Regions from separate parts of the Homo sapiens genome. Here region 1 is linked to region 2. Evidence: promoter capture Hi-C in human tissues and cell types (Jung and others, 2019). All regions are on one chromosome and are shown on one strand. Each heading gives the region's core, a stretch centred on a gene start or on the middle of the fragment in contact. The rest is flanking DNA. Distances are from core to core; before and after follow the strand shown. Region 1 overlaps LOC105370655 (a long non-coding RNA gene). Region 2 holds the start of BCL11B (BCL11 transcription factor B).

Evidence for each region. Contacts are between HindIII fragments. The study calls those that stand out against the background at their distance.
Region 1: a fragment that was not itself captured here is called in contact with the fragment with the promoter of BCL11B in region 2 in 1 of the 25 tissues and cell types used here (dorsolateral prefrontal cortex).

The regions. Positions count from the first base shown.
Region 1 is chr14:98,082,769-98,085,695 of GRCh38, forward strand. All of the region lies in intron 1 of LOC105370655 (a long non-coding RNA gene), which reads right to left. Among named protein-coding and RNA genes, the nearest start is that of LINC02295, 52 kb to the right of the region's middle. The HindIII fragment of the contact is 9,177 bases long and covers 1-2,927 here.
Region 2 is chr14:99,270,310-99,273,483 of GRCh38, forward strand. It overlaps BCL11B (BCL11 transcription factor B), which reads right to left and starts at 1,888. Exons shown (of 4, transcript NM_138576.4): 1 at 852-1,888. The coding sequence starts at 909. RefSeq lists a silencer at 1,735-1,814. The HindIII fragment of the contact is 16,916 bases long and covers 1-3,174 here.

The sequences.
Region 1 (2,927 bases), core at 303-2,802, 1.2 Mb before region 2:
TCAGTATTAGTTTTCTCCATAGAGGAAGCAAAAGGGAGAAAGAATTTCAGACTGGTGAGGTTGTCCTTCCTGGCTCTCCCACTTGGTAGCTGTGATAATTTTATATGTCAACTTGACTGGACCACAGGGTGCCCAGATTCAACATTATTATGAGATTAGCATTTGAATCAATAGACTCAGTTAAGCAGATTGCCCTTTGCAGTGTGGGTGGGCATAGTTCAATCTGTTGGAGGCCCAAATAGAACAAAAAGGCAAAAGAAGGGGGAACTAGCTCTCTTTGCCTGACTGCTTGAGCTGGGACATCGACTTGCTCCTGCCCTTGACTGGGACTTCTACCATCAACTCTCTGGTTCTCAGGACTACATCACCAGCTTCCTTTGGTCTACAGCTTGCAGACAGCAGACTGTGGGACTTCTCAGCCTCCATATTCACACAAGCCAATTCTTTACAATAAAGACATTTATTATTCCTGTGGTATTGGCAAACCAGAAAGCCTTAAGTCACCTGTTTTCTCCTCTCTACAATGTGCAGAACCCAACAAATCCAGGATGAGCTGTTGTGCATAGAAAACAAACTGAAGAAAAGCTTTTTGCAAAGTTTCTAAGGTTATCAAAATTGCATCTCCTGCTATTATTTTGTTGTTGTTGTTGTTGTCATCACCTGGTATACTAGAAGAACTAGAAGGAGATTTTCCCTCCAAAAAGAAAATTAAATATTGTGTGATGTGGACATTTGACCTGCTAGAGTCTTACATGTGCTCTGAAAACAAAATCTGAGTAATGTAGACCATTTCTACATAAGGCAGTCATGTACCTAGGAGGCTCAATTTTTTAAATTAATTTATTTATAAAATGGTTGCAATGTAAAATAATGCAATAGTACAATGCAATATCCATAAAACTAGAATGTTAAGACTAAAGGAGGAATATAAATAAGGTAATAGCAGCCATATCTGACTAATTTGACCTTCCAATATGTTGCAGAGCTTGCTGGTGTCCCAGGTGAAGTGAAGACATGATCAGTCATAAAATATTCATTGTTGGGAAAGAGTGATCAGGTCACTCTCTTGGGGTAAATTACTTTATTTTCCAGCTATATTTCTAAAGTACTTTTATGAAGAGTTCATATAATTTTATATTTTAAAAATTGAGATATTTCATAGCATATTCTCAAATGTATAGAATATTATGCCAAACCTCTTTCCATCCCAGCTTCATCAACAGCTATTTTTTAATATTTTTCATCATCAACTAGTTGTGTAACAAATAAGTACTATTCACTTTTACTCTCAGAAATGTAGTTTCTTCGCCATGTTGAGAGGACTACAGATGCTTTTTGTAAAATGGTTAGCATGGTCTCTGAGACTTTGTCAATTCTCAGTATATAGTTGCTGTTATTATTACTATTTTTATTTTCATTACATGGAAGTCCAGGGGACACTAAATGATAGAGATGAAAATATTTCTCTAAACATTACTCCAGCAAGTGGGTTTCTGTAGCACGGCAGGCAAGGAGACCAGAAAGATGTCTCAGCTAAGATACAACAGCTCTTGATATGATTAGAAAATTACAATGCAAACATAATTTTAATGCTTTTATGGGATTGATAGAATATAAGGGGAATCTCTAAGAAATAAAAACAAAGAAACAAGCATGACTGAGCTGAGACTGGAACAAGGAACTTGAGCAATGAGCAAGTCTACGTTAAGGAAGCCAAGCCCAAGAGCCTGGTAAGATGGAGGAGCTTGACCTCAGACCTACATGTAACATCAGCAACCTTACAAAGAGCCAAAAATAGTACCAGGTCTGCAGGGTTCTCTGGCCCTCAGCAAAAGCAAATGAAATTCCTTTCTCAGATCATACGGCACATGTAGTCCTTATGCATAAGTGTATGTTCACACACACACATGGAGTTATAGATTTGATATAAAATAAGTAATGTGAAATATCTCAAGAAATAAAAGACGAAATCAAAAAATTAGAAACAATTTATCAAACATGGCACAGCAGATTAGAGAAGAGAGCTACATAGTCTTTCTAGAAATAAAATTATTGAAATTCAAAACCTAGTAAATGCATAAACATTAACTGAGAAACGAACTGAAAATTGGTGATTAAGAAGGCAAATCAGAAGAAATGCTCAGCATATTGGAAAAAAAGGCAAGCAAACAGAAAATATAAAAAGGTGATAAAATGTAGACATACAGAACGTAGAAAAATGTAGACACACAGAACGTAGAAAAATATAGAAATTGCAATGGATATCAAGCAGTATTAAAGAAAGCAAACAAGTAACTTCACACTTCAATGCACTGTTGTAAAACTAAAGAACTTCAAATAAGATTTTAAAAGCAGCCAGAGTGAAAAGATGACCAAGCTAACACTAGACTTCTCAAAAGAAATAATGGAAAAAAGAAGATGGTGGAGTAACATTTTCTAAGTTTTGAGAGATGGTAAATTTCAAGCAAGAACTGGATACTCAGTAGAACTATCATTAAAAAGAAATATATAAAAATATTTTTTCCCAACATTTATTTTAAGTTCAGGGGGTACACATGCAGGTTTGTTACATGGGTAAATAGTGTGTCACTCGGCTTTGGTGTACAAATGATTTTGTCACCCAAGTAGTAACCATAGTACCCAATAGGTAGTTTTTCTATCCTCTTCTATCCTCTTCCTCCTCCCACCCTCCACCCTCAAGTAGGCTCCAGTGTCTATTGTTTCCCTCTTTGTGTCCATGTACACTCAATGTTTAGCTCCTACTTATAAGTATGAACATGTGGTATTTGGTTTTCTGTTCCTGCATAAATTTGCTTAGAATAATGGCCTCCAGCTGCCTCCATGTTGCTGCAAAGCACTTGATTTTGTTCTTTGTTATGGTTGTACAGTATTCCATGGTGTGTATATGAGTACCACATTTTCTTTAT
Region 2 (3,174 bases), core at 638-3,137:
TTTTTTCTTTTACTATTTTACAAGCGCATCACTCTCTTCCCACTCCTAACTGACAACCTTTTTTTTTTTCCTCGTGGCGGGGATTTTTCACCAACCCCAATCCCCCCACCTTTTTTGAAGTGGGGGAAAGAAGACAAGATCATCCCAGGAGACAGACGGAGGTGGGGAAGTGGGGGGTGGGGAGGGGGGCTTGAGCCCGGCAAACAGCCGCGCAGCTGGATTATTTTGCAAATAGCAGGAGGAGGGGAGAGAAAGGCGGCTGCGGAATCCTAGGACTGGCGCGGCCGGCACCCTGCTGGGCCGGGCGCAGGGACCGGGGACCCGGAGCCGGCGGCCGCCCCTGGCCCTACGGCTCCCCCAGCCGGAACGCACCCCGCTCTCCTCCGCCCGCGCCGTCAGCGCGGACCCACGCGCTCGCCAACTTTTCCCCACTTCCCGGCTCCCCCTCCCCCTCCGCTCCCCCAGCCCCCTCCCCCTCCTCTCCAAACCCCGCCACCAGCGCCGCCGCCGCCACACACGCCGCTCGGAGGGGCGAGCGTCCAGCCGGGCTCGGCGCGCACACACACACACTCCTCCAGCCTGCATGCCCCCTCCCCGGCCCGGAGCCGGCTCCGCAGGCCCCCGAGCCCGAGGCGCGTCCGGCTGCTCGGCGCCCCAACTCCCCGGGCTGCAAAGAAACTTTCCTATGGCCCCCGCCCCCCGCCATGCTCCAGGCCGACGCCGTAGACTCTGCCAGCCAGCGGGCGGCCCCGGCGCCTGGCCAGGCTCGGCTGTTCCGGGCTCGGTGTCCCCAGCCCCAGACGCCCGGAGCCCCATCTCCGGCCCCTCGCGCGCACTCCGCAGACACTTACGGGTGATGAGCTCCCTCTGGGACAAGTGCTGCGGGTTGCCCTGTTTGCGGCGGGACATTGCCCCGGCATCTATTCTGGCATCGCCCGGAGAGCTGCACTGATGGGGGGAGCCGGGGGAGGGGGTCCGAGCCGCCGCCGCGCCGCTGCCGCCGCTGCCGCCGCCGCCGCCGCCGCCGCACCTCCTCCTCTGCCCGGGTTGGTGTTTTTTTTCCCTTCCTCTCTTTCCCTCTCTTCCTCCTCTTCTTCTTCTTTATTTTGCTCTTTCTTCTATGCTGTTTTTTGTTTTGTTTGCAAAAAGAAAAAAAAGGGAAGAAAAGCAAGAAAAACCTCTCGATCTAAAATAAGAAAAAGAGGCAAAAAAAAAAAAAACTGCTGTTGCTTTCCGCGGACTGGCTGGTTTCTTTAAAAATATATTCTTTCGAAGGAAAAAAAATCTCTTACACTTCTTCAAACTGCTTGGCCTCTTGCACTTGCAAATGTCTTCTTGAACTTAAACTGGGTTTTGCACCGGCTCCTGACACTTTCTTTCAGGGTCTGGTAGGTGGAAAGCGCACTTCTACCAGGAGGGGAAAAAAAATGCAAACAAATAAAAAAATAAAAGAAGAAAAAGCAAAGGAAAAAAAAAAGCAAAGAAAACTTGGGGACTTGTCTCGTACCCCCTCACCCCGCCCCCTCAAAAAACCCAAAGCAATGTAAAACTGCCCCGGTTCGGTTGTTTCTGGGTTTTCTGCGGGCTGCCTGTTTTTGTTTTTGTTTTTGTTTTTTCTCGGAGACTGACCCTTCCGAGGCTCTGGGGGGACACCAGGAGAGGCTCCTTCCCAGTTCACCTGGCAGGCTGGCGCCGGCCGGAGGGGCTGCCGAGTCCCCGCGAGCGCTCCCCAGCGCTCCCCTGGCGCCGCGGGCCCGGGGGGAGCGGGGCGGAGGGGCGGCTCGCCCAGTGCGCCTGGGTCGGTGCGGGCGCAGACTGGGAGCTATAGATTGCAACGTGAAGATGGCGGAGTCCGGGTTCTCTGGGAGCTCTCGGTCTCTCTATGGCTGGGGCTGCCTCTGTACAATGGGATAAAATTCAAGTTCAAGTGCGGACGTGACGTTTAATCTGCACTAGAGACAAAAAGACCCAGAGAGTCGGAGCACTGGGGGCGACTAGCGGTGGCTTTTTAACATTGTACCCTGTAAGAGAACAAGAAAGCACACACAGAGACACACTCGCGCGCGCGCGCACACTCACACACACACACACACAGTCGCCAGTTGCGCACACCCGCAGCCCAAGCCGGACACACGTGCAAACCGCGTTTTTGTGCGCTCATCTCCCCCGAGCCCCGGCTGCGCAACAGCGGGAGGGGGTTGGGGGGGGCCACTGGGCAGCTTATTTTAAAATAAAAGAAAAATCGTCCTTATATCTCCTCCATCCTGGGAGCAGGACCCCCTGAGAAGGGGGGCGGGGTGCTGTGTGAGTGAACTAAATTGAATCAATGCAAGTCTCCACCCACCCAAAAGCTCTTTCGGACTTGGACTTTGGGGGTGGGGGCGTGGACTGTGGAAAAGGGTTGGGGTCGACATGGGAGTTGGGGGGACAGTAAGAATCGCTTCGTTTCCCTGGAAAAGTCGCTTGGTAGTTTTTACTTTTGTTTTATGGTCGCGGGCGGCGAGGGGAGGGGAGTAGATGTTGGAGTTCAACTTCCAAAAAGTGTCTCCATATAAATCCTGGTATTACAGACTCTGGGAGGGTGAGGATGACAAAATAAACGACACTAAGACAACAGAATCAAGAGCACGTGAGGGGGTGAGAAGTGTTTGAGACCTTGTTTGAGTCCCACTTGGAAAAGGATTTTCACTCAAATCTTTGTCCCCTCCCCTCACCTTACCCCGATTAACTCCTGGGGTCAAACACGACCCCACCTCCTAAACTGGGTCTATGGCAAGCGAGAGGGTAAAGGGACCGGGGCGCTCCACGTGGGAGAGGGACTTGGACTTGCCAGCCCAGGAGTAGGTGTGGCCAAATCTCCGCAGATACTCGGGTGGGTGACTCCAGGAGGCGCCCCTGACAATCACAGCAACCTGGAAGTCACACCCCGCCCCCCGCGCTCCTCGGCCCAGGGTAGGACTTGGAAATGCCTGTCAGACTGGGAAGGACGCAGCTGCCTTGTCAGCCGTTTGATCTCCAACCGGCGAGGACAAGAGGAGTTGTGGGGCCTCTCCGTGGCCCGGGGACAAGGCCAGACCACGGCCCCCGTGGACACCCCCCATTCCCCAGGCTGTGGCCAACTTTGTCAATTTGATGACCTGGCCTCCAGGGCTGGGCGCGCCACGCGGCTGGCCT